Regions from separate parts of the Homo sapiens genome. Here regions 2, 3, 4 and 5 are each linked to region 1. The links are contacts of gene promoters, found by promoter capture Hi-C in human tissues and cell types (Jung and others, 2019). All regions are on one chromosome and are shown on one strand. Each heading gives the region's core, a stretch centred on a gene start or on the middle of the fragment in contact. The rest is flanking DNA. Distances are from core to core; before and after follow the strand shown.

Region 1 (2,531 bases), core at 21-2,520:
GGACAAAAGAATAAGGAGCGCTTAGGGGGCAGAATCTAACCCAGATTTTGCTGCCCTCAAAGGTCCTCTTTTTTATTGTTGTTGTTGTTTTTTAGACGGAGTCTCACTTTGTCGCCCTGACTGGAGGGCAGTGGTGCAATTTTGGCTCACTGCAACCTCCACCTCCCAGGTTCAAGCGATTCTCCTGCCTCAGCCTCCCGAGTAGCTGGGATTACAGGTGCCCACCACCACGCCTGCCTAATTTTGTATTTTTAGTAGAGACGGGATTTCACCATGTTGGCCAGGCTGTTCTCGAACTCCTGACCTCAAGTGATCGGCCTGCCTTGGCCTCCCAAAGTGCTGGGATTACAGGCATGAGCCACCACGCCCGGTCTCAAAGGTCCTCTTTAGGCCTCAATTTTAACTTAATTTCTTTTTCCCAAGGATAGAAGGTAGAATTTCATTTCTCACAAAGAAATGAAGTTCAGTCCACGCCATTTCTCTGACCCCTGTCGATACCCCCGCGTCTCTCTCCTAAGCCCCACCTCTGGACACGCCCCAACCGAATGTCTCTCTTACCCCAGACGGGCCTGGCTTTCCTCTGGGGTGAGTTGGTCGAATTCCTTGGCCACTTCCCGTCCCAGGAAAGCCTCATGGTCGTACTGGAAGTTCCCGTGGGCGTCATCATGGGGAGCGTCGCTCAGGGGGGCCGCCTGGTGCACCCTCCCCTGGCCATGAGGGCCTGCGTCTGGGGATGGCTTCCCCTGGGCCCCGTGCCTCAGTAGCAACAGAAGCAGCAGAACTGATGGTCGCCACATCATCGGTCCCTGGGGAGTGGCAAAGGCCAGGGGTCAGGGGTCACAGGGATGGGGACAGACACGGGATAGGAGAATGGCGGGGTGGAGGGGTTACCTAGGACAGGACAGGGAGTTGGAAGTTGGCTGCAAGCTTTCGGGCTCAAAAAGGGCGGGCGATGGGGGAAAAGAGGGCGGGATGCTTAGAGGTAAAGCCACCTATGGGGAGGACCGAATCTTCTGACGGAGTCTCAGGGGGGTCCCAGACCTGCCAGGGGGAATTACAGAGACAGACGTGGCGCACATCCCACGCAAGGTGCAGGGCATAGTTGTGGCCAGCGAGAGGTCAGGCAGGCTCCCCGTCATTGCTCCCAGTCCGGACCCTGGTCCTCGACCCGAGCCGCCCTCCCTGGACAGAGGCCCCCCACCCACTCCCTTTACCCTGTTATCCAGCTTCGCTCCGCTCTCCACGCTCCGCTCTGCGTTCCCGCAAATGTGCCCAATTCGGCCGCTCTCCAGTCAGGCCCCGCCTCTGGCAGCGCAGAGCCCCGCCCCCCGCCCAATGAGCTCGCACGAGCGTCTCACGGGGCGGGGCCAATGAGTGCACGGGGTGCCGCGGGCACTCCTCGCCACGTCCACAAAGGAAACCGCGGCCTGCCCGGGGAAGAAGGGTGGGCGACACCGCAGTGACGCGGCCGGGGAGAACTACAACTCCTGGCAGTCGTCGCGGCACTCTGCCGTCCACCTCCAGCTGTTCTAGTCACAACGCCTCACGGGAAATGTATTTTTCCCTTTCCCTTTGTCAGGATGGTTTAAGAAAGAGGTGTACGTTCCAACACTTCTATACCAAACAAAACAAAACAAAACAAAAATAAACAAAAAGAACGAAAGAAAAGAAAAAAGGCCGGGCGCGGTGGCTCACGCCTGTAATCCCAGAACTTTGGGAGGCCGAGGCGGGCGGATCGCCTGAGGTCGGGAGTTCGAGACCAGCCTGATCAACACGGAGAAACCCCATCTCTACTAAACATACAAAATTAGCCGGGTGTGGTGGCGCATGTCTTTAATCCCAGCTACTTTGGGAGGCTGAGGCAGGAGAATTGCTTGAACCTGGGAGGCGGAGGTTGTGGTGAGCCGAGATCGCACCATTGCATTCCAGCCTGGGCAACAAGAGCGAAACTCCGTCTCAAAAAAAAAAAGAAAGAAAAGAAAAGAAAAGAAAAGGGAGAGCAGAATCAAGGGGCCGGAGGAAATATCCCATTTCCTCCAAGAGTGAACACTGCTCCTCGCTCCTCTTCGGCTCCAAGGATTCAGGTGGTCAGACAGTAGCCAAGAATTCCTCAAAATGCCTGGCATGGCAGTCATCCAGTAAATATTTGTAAAAGTTATGAATTAAAAATACATGACCTCAGGTTGAGCACAGTAGCTCAATGCCTGTAATCCCAGAACTTTGGGAAGCTGAGGCAGGTGGATCACCTGAGGTCAGGAGTTCCAGACCAGCCTGACCAACATGGTGAAACCCCGTCTCTACTAAATACAAAAAATTAGCCGGGTGTGGTGGTGCATGCCTGTAATCCCAGCTACTTGGGAGGCAGGAGAATTGCTTGAACCTGGGAGGCGGAGGTTGCAGTGAGCTGAGATCACGCAATTGTACTCCAGTCTGAGCAACAAGAGCAAAACTCTGTCTTAAAAAAAAAAAAAAAAAGTGACCTTAGGCCGGGCGCGGTGGCTCACACTTGTAATCCCACCCCTTTGGGAGGC
Region 2 (2,531 bases), core at 17-2,516, 900 kb after region 1:
GTTGGCCATGCTGGTCTTGAACTCCTGACTAAAGGTGATTCGCCGCCTCGGCTTCCCAAACTGCTGGGGTTACAGGCGTGAGCCACTGCGCCTGGCCAAGGGAACCTTCATATTTTATATTAGGGAGATTAATCCCTGGCCGAATTTATGCTAGATCCCAGAAGGACTTTCCATGTGGCTATGATACCACAGCAAAAAGTAGCTTCAGGAAACCCCCTCCTTAAAATACACACTCAGCTGACACGTGCTGTTTCCCCAAGGCCTGACCTCTCGGGACACACCCAGCCCTGTGGACCCAGACACCGTGGAGGTGTTGATGACCTTTGAACCCGACCCAGCTGATCTTGCCCTATCAAGCATTCCTGGCCACGAGACCTTTGACCCTCGAAGACATCGCTTCTCAGAAGAGGAACTTAAGCCCCAGCCAATCATGAAGAAGGCAAGAAAAATCCAGGTGCCGGAGGAGCAGAAGGTGAGCAGAGCTGGATGTGGGAGATAGACTTGGCTGGAGACATGCCCCACAGCCAGGGAGGGGCCTTTTCTCACAGTCAAGCCTGGGCTTCTCCTTGGGATTAGTGCTCAGCCTCTCCTGGCCTGCAGCCACAGATTAGTCCTCCTTGGCCACGGGGCACAAGGGGGCAGGGGCCTGAGGTTTATAAAGACAGTGTCAACTGGGCGAGGGGCCTCACTCGTGTAATCCCAGCATTTTAGGGGGCTGAGGCAGGAGGATCTCTTGAGCTCGGGAGTTCAAGACCAGCCTGGGCAACATGGCAAAACCCCATTTCTACAAGCCACTTGGGAGGCTGAGGTGGGAGGACTGCTTGTGCCTGGGAGATTGAGGCTGCAGTGAGCCAAGATTACACCACTGCACTCCAGCCTGGGCAACAGAGGGAGACCTTGTCTTAAAACAAAAGACAGTGTCACTGTGGGGTGCTGACTCAGCCAGCTCTGCTAGGTCTACTTGTAGAGACTTGGAGCTTCTCCTATTACTTGGGTCCAGAGCTCCACCAGGCACACTTGCAAAGGACAGTCTTCCTTTGGCAATGGGATATCAGCCTGTGGCCTGTCTCTCCTTACTCAGCAGGCCTTTGATCTCTGATGTGGGACTTCCTTTGGAGTGATTGCATTTGGCTAGGATGAAGACTGTGCCAGCCCCTTTAGGCCTTGTTTCCTGGGCCTGGACTTCTCACTGGTGGGAGACTTCAGGCTTCTGTTAGCAGCCAGTGCCACTTTCTGATTTGGGGTGATTTGAGCAGTCATTGCATCTTTGCATGATTTTGTTTTTTGCCATTACTGGAGTCTTCCCTAGCAAGAGTTGCTTGGGCTTCTGTTACAAGACTTTGTCATTCCGGGCCAGGCGCGTTGGCTCACGCCTGTAATCCTAGCACTTTAGGAGGCTGAGGTGGGCGGATCACTTGAGGTCAGGAGTTTGAGACCAGCCTGGCCAACATGGTGAAACCTCGCCTCTACTAAAAGTACAAAAATGTTCCGGGTGTGGTGTCTCACACCTGTAATCACAGCACTTTGGGAGGCCGAGGCGGACAGATCACGAGATCAGGAGACCATCCTGGCCAACATGGTGAAACCCCGTCTCTACAAAAAAATACAAAAATTAGCTGGGCATGGTGGCACTCATCTGTAGTCCCAGCTACTTGGGAGGCTAATGTAGGAAAATCGCTTGAACCCAGGAGACGGAGGTTGCAGTGAGCCGAGATCGCGCCACTGCACTCCAGCCTGGGCGACAGAGTGAGAACTCCATCTCAAAAAAAAAAAAAAAGAACAAAAATTAGCCGGACATGGTAGCGGGCACCTATAATCCCAGCTACTTGGGAGGCTGAGGCAGGAGAATCGCTTGAACCTGGGAGGTGGAGGTTGCAATGAGCCGAGATCATGCCACTGCATTCCAGCCTGAACGACAGAGCGAGACTCCATCTCAAAAACAAACAAGACTTTGCCATACCCTTGCGTAACACATAGCTACTTGAAGCACCTAGGACTGGCCTGGAAGTCAGATCTACACCAGTGGTTTCTCCTTCTAGAGGGCCCTGTTGCTAGGGACTGGATTTACCCTCACAAGCAGGAACTGGGCTTTAATTAAATAGTGGAGTAGAGAGCATCTTTCTGAGCCCCGTGGTCCTTGGTTACTAAGGAGGAGTCTTCCTTAGGAACCAACTTCCAGGATGGGAGGACTTTAGGTATAATCCTCTGGGGAGGTCTCAGGATAGTCCCCTTTCCTAAGAGACAGCTCTTCTCTCAGTCAGGTCCTACTGGGGAGGAGGCTATTCTCTGGCCTCAGTTCAAGGCCAGCAGGTCAGAGGCTGGCCACAGTCATTGAAACCACTTAGACCTCACTTTTGTTTGCCAAGGATGGATGAGGTTGCCTTGGCAACCAGGTCAGAAGGCCCCAGCTCTGCGAGGATTTTATGGGACACCAAACCCCATCACCAGGGCACCAAGCTTTCCTTAGCAACCAGGATCTGGAAAGGCAATGTGCAGGGCAGGGCAGTGCTCTTCATTGGGAGAAGCCCTCA
Region 3 (2,531 bases), core at 11-2,510, 630 kb after region 1:
TATTTTCGCCCCACGAAGTGCCTGGAAGTTATAGCGCGGTAGCAATTGCATAGCCTTTCTTATGAGTTTCTTTCTTCTTCTTCTTATTATTCGAGACAGGGTTTGCTCTGTCACCCAGGTTGGAGTGCAGTGGCGCAATCACTTCTCACTGCAGCCTCTACCTCCCAGGCCCAAGCAATCCTCCCGCGTCAGCCTCCCAAGTAGATGGGACCACAGGCCACACTACCATGCCTGGCTAATGTATATTTTTTAAATTTTTAATACAAATATTTAAATCTTTAATTCTTTTTTAGCCTTTTTTTTTTTTTAACGTTCTGTCTTTCACACTTCTCACACTTTGTTGTTGTTGTTTTTTAAAGAGACGGATGTCAAGCCGGGCTTGGGGGTTCACTCCTGTAATCCCAGCACTTTGGGAGGCTGAGGCAGGCAGATCACCTGAGGTCAAGGGTTTGAGACCAGCCTGGCCAACATGGAGAAACCTCGCCTCCACTAAAAATACAAATTAGCCAGGCGTGGTTGCGCATGCCTGTAATCCCAGCTACTCAGGAAGCTGAGGCAGGACAATCTCTTAAACCCGGGAGGCGGAGGTTGCAGTGAGCCGAGATCGCGCCACTGCACTCCAGCCTGGGCGACAGAGTGAGACTACGTCTCAAAAAAAAAAAAAAATCTCTGTGTTGCTGGTCTGGATCTGGATCTCCTGGACTCAAGCAATCTTGCCTCCCCGTCTCCGCCTCCCAAAGTGCTGGGATTACAGGCGTGAGCCACTGCGCCCCGCCTCTTTTAAGTTTCTTGTAAGCGAGATGTGTACAGTGAGGCCGCGAGGTCTCTGGTCTCCCGCTCTCTCTCTCTCTTTTTTTTTTTTTTTTTGAGACGGTGTCTACCTCTGTCACACAGGCTGGAGTGCAGTGGCGCGATCTCAGCTCACTGCGAGCTCCGCCTCCCGGGTTCACGCCATTCTCCTGCCTCAGCCTCCCGAGTAGCTGGGACTACAGGCGCCCGCCCGCCACAACGCCCGGCTAATTTTTTTGTGTATATATATATATTTTTTTTTAGTAGAGACGGGGATTCACCATGTTAGCCAGGATGGTCTAGATCTCCTGACCCCGTGATCCGCCCGCCTCGGCCTCCCAAAGTGCTGGGATTACAGGCGTGAGCCACCGCGCCGGGCCGGTCTCTGGTCTCTTTAAGGAACCCCCACACGGCATTCGTGTTCAGAACCCCCGGAGCAGGGTTGCCTGGCTGCATCAGTGACCGAGTTCGTTACTTTGTTGGAAGTGGAGAGTGGAGGGTCAGAAGGGAGTGGACCAGTTCAGGTCCCAGAGGGAATCCTCCCTCCCTCTGAGCCGTCTTTCTTCTCCTCCCTATTTCGCAGATATCCCGAGATTAGGTCCCCAGCTTCCAAAGAGAGGATCAGGTATGTTTAGAGATTGGCCAGAGAGGCAAGGTACCGAGGCATCAATGTGAGCAGCCTCTCCAGGCACCTGGTGAGGAGAACAAGTCTCCCGGATCCCAGGCAGGTGGGCAGTGGAGTTCTAGGCCGCTGGGGGCTGGGTGTTTGAAGTGCACAGTCCTGAGTTCTGATGCCTGGGTGCTGGAGAATTAGATATTTGGGGGAGAGAGAAGCGGACTTGCGGACCCCCGTGGGAAGCTGGAAACAGGCTACTAGATCCCGACAGGAGTGGGTGCTGGGATTCGGGCTGCCTGGGTCCGGAAGCAAATTTAAAGGTAAGGATCAGGCCGGGCACTGTGGCTCATGCCTGTAATCCTAGCACTTTGGAAGGCCAAGGCGGGCAGATCACCTGAGGTCAGGAGTCCGGCACCAGCCTGGCCAACATAGTGAAAACCGGTATCTACTAAAATACAAAAAAATTAGGCAGAATAGCGGACGCCTGTAGTCCCAGCTACTCGGGAGGCTGAGGCAGGAGAATCGCTTGAACCCAGGAGGTGGAGGTTGCAGTGGCCGAGATGGCGCCACTGCACTGCAGCCTGGGCGACAGAGCGAGGCTCAGCTGTCTCTAAATACATAAATAAATAAATAAATAAATAAATAAATAAGGCTAAAGATTAGGTGCTGGTGGGCAGGATCCATTGGGATGTTGGTTCTGATCCTGACTCCTCATTCTTGCTTCTGCAGAATGTCTCAGGATAATGACACATTGATGAGAGAGTGAGTAGGGAAACAGATGGGTAGGGGTGGAGGTGGAAAGGGCTGGGGACCCCGTGCACTCGGCTCTGGCTTCATAACCATGTTTGCAGGTTCAGCACCATCGGCCTTGCAGGAAGGGGCTGGGGACCTGGACTCCTGTGTCCTGAAGGGATGGGGCTAGGGTGCAGACTTCTGGGTCTGAAAGAGAAGGGGTTGGGGGCCCCAGACTCCTGAATCCTGAGACAGGAGGGACCTGGGATCTCTGGGTCCCGGCTTCTGTGGGCCAGTGCCAGGAGAAAGGGCCCTATAACTGGTGGAGCAGGCTCAGGTTCTGCACCTCCTGTGACCTCACAGGTGCCCAGAACCCAAGCTGAGATAGGGGCAG
Region 4 (2,531 bases), core at 19-2,518, 570 kb after region 1:
AATTCCCGCATCCACCGCACACTAAAGATAAGGAGACTGAGCCCCAAGCCAGGCTGAAATGAAAAGCAACAGGCCAACGGGGGACAAGGGAAGGGGACAAGACAGACATTTAGGAAGGTGGGAAAAATGACTCCCTGAAGGAGGGTTTTAAGATCCTGGCAGAGAGGAGGGCTGGGAGTCCGGAATGTTTGCGCTGAGTTGTGGGGCCCAGACTCCTAGTTCTTAGGGGAGGAGGAGAATGCGGGGCTGAGAGTCCTGTGTCCTGAAGGAGCCCAGTGGCTGGACTTCTGGGTCCTCAGGGGCCCACACCTCTGCAGCTCCATGTTACTGTCCAGTTCGTCCCCGATGCGCTTGAGACACTCGCTCAGCTTCTTGGTGGACGCATCCTGAGGCACCGGGTCCAGGGCCAGCTCGGGTGCCTCCCCCCCCATTCGCCCTGCTCGATCCTGGATGAAACTAGAGTGGGGATGGAGTGAGGGTGCAGAATCAGAACGGGGTGTCACTCCTCAAATCTGTGCCACAATAATCAGACCTCAAACTCACCCCTGAAGCAAAAGGGCCCCTGTCTTCATGATCTGCTCAGAGCTGGTGGGCCCTAGAGGAGAAAGGAAGGGAAGAGGTACCTGGACTCTTGGGTTCTAGGGGATCAGGAGACTGTGGAGACTCACGGCCCCTGAGGGAGGACAGAGCTGGGGACCCTGGACTTCTGGGACCCTAGCAGATAAAGTGACGGGGGGGCCCAGACAACTGAGTCCCTGATGGAGAAAGGCCAGGAGGCTGGGCCTGTATCCTACATTCTCCCCGGGGAAAGAGGCTAGGGGAACGCTATATGCATCCAGACCCCTGGCCTGAGGGGGCAGAGGCGAGACCCGCCCCTCCCACCAGTGCCAGAGGCAGGAAGTGGTGCGGGCGACAAGCCCGGGCCTGCCCGGGGGCTTGGCTTCCGAGATCCCCTGGTTCTCGAGGGTCCGAGAGCGCCAGAGAGGCAGGGATCGGGACACGGGGATCAGAGAGCCAGGAACCTCCGAGGACGGAGGGGACTGGAGGCTGGCAGCGCCCGATCCGGGAGTTTCTGCCCCTCAGTGCTTGGAGATCGCACAGCCCCAGGCCGGTAGGAAGGATCCCGGACGGGCCGGCGAGGGGGCTCGCCCTCCTCCCGCCCGTCTGCCTCCCGCCTCACCCCCGCCTCTGGGCTGCTCCCCGGACCCGTCCATCACCGCCGCTCCCGCCGCCGCCTCTCGCCGGGTCCGCGCGGGCGGCCGCAGCGCGCCCGGGTCACGTGAGAGCCCCGCTGAACGTGCGTCCTTCACGTGGCCGCCCCGCAAAATGGCCGCTGCCCCGCAGCGCCGCCGGGTCACGTGACCGCACCTGCCTCGCTCCCTCGGGAGGTTTGGTCCCGTCACGTGACTGTCCAATGAGCATCTCCCGATAAGTGCCAGCAGTGGCGCCGTCCAACAGCCGTCCGTCCAATCGCAGCTCTAATGCCTTCATTTATCCAGGCACCATTTTTAGAAGTTTCGGGCAGGGTTTGAGCTCTCCCCAGCGCAGAAGGAATTAGCAAGTGCAAAAGCTCAGAGGCCCAAAATAGCATGCTTCCAGGCAGGACGTTATAGATGACTAAAAACTGAGTGGTTTTGTTTTTTGCAGAGACCTGGATCTAGCAATATAGCCCACGCCCAGGCTTGTCTCTAACTTGTGAGCCCAAGAGATAACCCCGTCTCAGCCTTCCAAAGCGCTGGGATTACAGGCATGAGCTACCGCGCCAGGCCTGCTTTTCTGTTTGTTTGTTTTTTCCTGTTTTTTTTTTTTTTTTTTTTGAGACAGGGTCTCACTGTGTTGCCCAGGCTGGAGTGCAGTGGCCCAATCATGGCTCACTGCAGTCTGGAATTCCCGGGCTGAAGCCTCCCACCTCAGCCTCCTGAGTAGCTGGGACTACACCGCCCCTGGTTAATTTTTAAAACTTTTTATGTGGAGATGAGGTCTCTCTATGTTGCCCAGGCTGGTCTCTGAACTCCCAGACTCAAGCGATCCTCGCACCTTGGCCTCCCAAAGTGCTGAGATTACAGGCTTGAGCCACCCCACCCAGTCATGACTCGAATGTTTGTGTTTGTGTAAAAAGAAAAGGAATATGAAGTTTAAAAAGTGGCAGAAACTAATCTGTGCTGATAGATCAGCAGGGTATGGAGGGGAGGGGCCACAAGAGACACTCCCCGGGTGCCCCAAATATGCCATATTTTTATCTGAATGGTGTTTACATGGGTATACACATTATTATTATTATTATTATTATTATTATTATTATTATTTTGAGACGGAGTTTTGCTCTTGTTGCCCAGGATGGAGTGCAATGGCACGATCTCGGCTTACTGCAACCTCTGCCTCCGGGTTCAAGCAATTCTCCTGCCTCAGCCTCCCAAGTAGCTGGAATTGCAGGCATGCGACACCACGCCCAGCTAATTTTGTATTTTTAGTAAAGATGGGGTTTCACTATGTTGGTCAGGCTGGTCTCAAGCTCCTGACCTCAAGTGATC
Region 5 (2,531 bases), core at 18-2,517, 520 kb after region 1:
ATGTCCCAACGGACCATACTGGACACTTGCAATGTGTACAGCTTTCTGTATGTCAATTAAAACTCAATAAAGTTCTTTTTTTTTTTGAGACGGAGTCTTGCTCTGTCGCCCACGCTGGAGTGTAGTAGCATGATCTCGGCTCACTGCAAGCTCTGCCTCCCGGGTTCACGCCATTCTCCTGCCTCAGCCTCCCGAGTAGCTGGGACTACAGGCGCCCGCCACCACGCATGGCTAATTTTTGTATTTTTAGTAGAGATGGGGTTTCACTGTGATAGCCAGGATGGTCTCGATCTCCTGACCTTGTGATCTGCCCACCTCGGCCTCCCAAAGTGCTGGGATTACAGGAGTGAGCTACTGCGCCTGGTGAATAAAGCTCTTTTTTTTTTTTTTTTTTTTTTTTTTTTTTTTTTTTGAGATAGAGTCTTGCTCTGTCGCCCAGGCTGGAGTGCAGTGGTGTGATCTCAGCTCACTCCAACCTCCATCTCCCGGGTTCAAGTAGTTCTCCTGCCTCAGCCTCCCAAGTAGCTGGGATTACAGATGTGTGCCACCATACCCAGCTAATTGTTTTGTGTTTTTATTATTTATTTATTTTTGAGATGGAGTTTCGCTCTTGTTGCCCAGGCTGGAGTGCAATGGTGTGATCTCGGCTTACTGCAACTTCTGCCTCCCAGATTCAAGCGATTCTCCTGCCTTAGCCTCCCAAGTAGCTGGGATTACAAGCACCCACCACCACGCCCAGCTAATTTTTTGTATTTTTAGTAGAGACAGGGTTTCACCATGTTGGTCAGGCTGGTCTTGAACTCCTGACTTCAGGTGATCCACCCGCCTCGGCCTCCCAAAGTGCTGGGATTATAGGCATGAACCACCGCGCCCAGCCATTTTGTATTTTTAGTATAGACAGGGTTTCACCATGTTAGTCAGGCTCGTTTCGAACTCCTGATCTCAAGTGATCGCCCACCTCAGCCTCCCAAAGTGCTGGGATTACAGGTGTGAGCCACTGCGCCTGGCCAAAACTCAATAAAGCTCTTAATAAAAATAGTAAACAGGCAGGGTGCAGTGGCTCACACCTGTAATCCCAGCACTTTGGGAGGCCGAGGCGGGCAGATCACAAGGTCAGGAGATCGAGACCACAGTGAAACCCCGTCTCTACTAAAAATACAAAAAATTAGCCGGGCGTGGTGGCAGGTGCCTGTAGTCCCAGCTACTCGGGAGGCTGAGGCAGGAGAATGGCATGAACCCGGGAGGCAGAGCTTGCCGTGAGCTGAGATTGTGCCACTGCACTCCAGCCTGGGCAACAGAGCAAGACTCCATCTCAAAAAAAAAATTATAATAAAATAAAATAAAAATAAAAAATAAAAATAGTAAACAAACAACATGCCTAAAAAATAAAGTCTATCAAAAACAACATAGGCCCGAGGTCTCGCAAAATTGCCAAATGTCACACTTTGACATTCCTATTTTATACCCAAATAAAAAGTGTTTTTGTTGATCACAAAATCAGAAAACACAGCTATGCAAAAAGGAGAAAACAGAAATTGTAAAAAAAAAAAAAAAAAAAAAAAAAGAGGCCAGGTATGGTGGCTCACGGCTGTAATCCCAGCACTTTGGGAGGCCAAGGTGGGCAGATCACGAGGTCAGGAGTTCAAGACCAGCCTGGCCAACATGGTGAAACCCCGTCTCTACTGAAAGTACAAAAATTAGCCGGGCGTGGTGGCATGCACACACCTGTAATCTCAGCTACTCGGAAGGCTGAGGCAGAAGAATCACTTGAACCTGGGAGGCAGAGGTTGCAGTGAGCCGAGATTGCACCACTGCATTCCAGTCTGGGGGACAGAGGGAGACTCTGTCTCGAAAACAAAAAAAAAAGAGAGAGCAAATCACCTGTATCATGTAAGATGGACAGGACATGCCTTTCGGCCACGGAACGAGTTTTGAAGTCTGTTGGGTTTTGAGGTCTGTTGGGAACTCACTAACAGATCTCTCTCATTATTTTACCGCCTCAGTTTCTATTGCCCATAATGTCCTTCATAAGGGGATAAGCCATTGTCAAGTTAACTGACCTCCTACTGTAGGCATGTACATGGCTCTAGTCTGCAGCTAGAACATTCCATGGGATTCTGACCTCAGTGCAGACCTGATATCTACTCTCTCCAACCCTGGCGCTGGAGGTGGCCTCAGCAGGGTACAGACTCACACAGACTCACCGTCCCTGTTGCTGGTCGATCAATCTGGATCTCCACCACCTCCCCTTCGATGATCTCCGTCTCCTCCCTAGCCAGAGAGCAGATCTGAGGAGACAGCCTGACACCTGGACCCTCGGGAATCACAACCTTCCATGAGCTCTGGGACAAAGGACGAGCCGCCCGGGGTGCGGGGTTGCTCCCAGGCTCTGGGGTCTGGCACCCGCCTCGGGTCCCCCGCTTACTTGATGCGAACGCCGATGGACCGCCGGAAGGCCTGCGTCAGCGCCTCGGTCTTGCTCATCTCCAGGGAGAAGATTTCACTGCCGGCGATGGCTGTGAATGGCGTGT

The links. The method cuts DNA at HindIII sites, captures the fragments that hold promoters and counts their contacts. A contact is called where the count stands out against the background at its distance.
Region 2: a contact is called between a fragment that was not itself captured here and the fragment with the promoter of RCN3 in region 1, in 2 of the 25 tissues and cell types used here (heart right ventricle and spleen).
Region 3: the fragment with the promoter of TULP2 here is called in contact with the fragment with the promoter of RCN3 in region 1 in 4 of the 25 tissues and cell types used here (dorsolateral prefrontal cortex, liver, small bowel and 1 more).
Region 4: a contact is called between the fragment with the promoter of BAX here and the fragment with the promoter of RCN3 in region 1, in 1 of the 25 tissues and cell types used here (dorsolateral prefrontal cortex).
Region 5: a fragment that was not itself captured here is called in contact with the fragment with the promoter of RCN3 in region 1 in 1 of the 25 tissues and cell types used here (dorsolateral prefrontal cortex).

The regions. Positions count from the first base shown.
Region 1 is chr19:49,526,742-49,529,272 of GRCh38, reverse strand. RCN3 (reticulocalbin 3) reads right to left here and starts at 1,270. Exons shown (of 7, transcript NM_020650.3): 1 at 1,215-1,270; 2 at 559-806. The coding sequence starts at 800. RefSeq lists a silencer at 1,193-1,312 and an enhancer at 776-1,354. The HindIII fragment of the contact is 21,368 bases long and covers 1-2,531 here.
Region 2 is chr19:48,631,385-48,633,915 of GRCh38, reverse strand. It overlaps DBP (D-box binding PAR bZIP transcription factor), which reads left to right. Exons shown (of 4, transcript NM_001352.5): 3 at 261-472. Among named protein-coding and RNA genes, the nearest start is that of DBP, 4.7 kb to the left of the region's middle. The HindIII fragment of the contact is 4,057 bases long and covers 1-2,531 here.
Region 3 is chr19:48,897,473-48,900,003 of GRCh38, reverse strand. It overlaps TULP2 (TUB like protein 2), which reads left to right and starts at 1,260. Exons shown (of 13, transcript NM_003323.3): 1 at 1,260-1,414; 2 at 2,135-2,167. The coding sequence starts at 2,136. RefSeq lists a cis regulatory region at 516-1,515 and an enhancer at 1,050-1,865. The HindIII fragment of the contact is 17,343 bases long and covers 1-2,531 here.
Region 4 is chr19:48,953,612-48,956,142 of GRCh38, reverse strand. It overlaps BAX (BCL2 associated X, apoptosis regulator), which reads right to left and starts at 1,268. Exons shown (of 6, transcript NM_138761.4): 1 at 1,181-1,268; 2 at 544-595; 3 at 310-456. The coding sequence starts at 1,214. RefSeq lists enhancers at 794-1,003, 453-1,020, 1,021-1,589 and a silencer at 1,124-1,273. The HindIII fragment of the contact is 13,021 bases long and covers 1-2,531 here.
Region 5 is chr19:49,007,042-49,009,572 of GRCh38, reverse strand. RUVBL2 (RuvB like AAA ATPase 2) reads right to left here. Exons shown (of 15, transcript NM_006666.3): 5 at 2,426-2,531; 6 at 2,205-2,271. Among named protein-coding and RNA genes, the nearest start is that of MIR6798, 1.6 kb to the left of the region's middle. RefSeq lists an enhancer at 1-133. The HindIII fragment of the contact is 7,286 bases long and covers 1-2,531 here.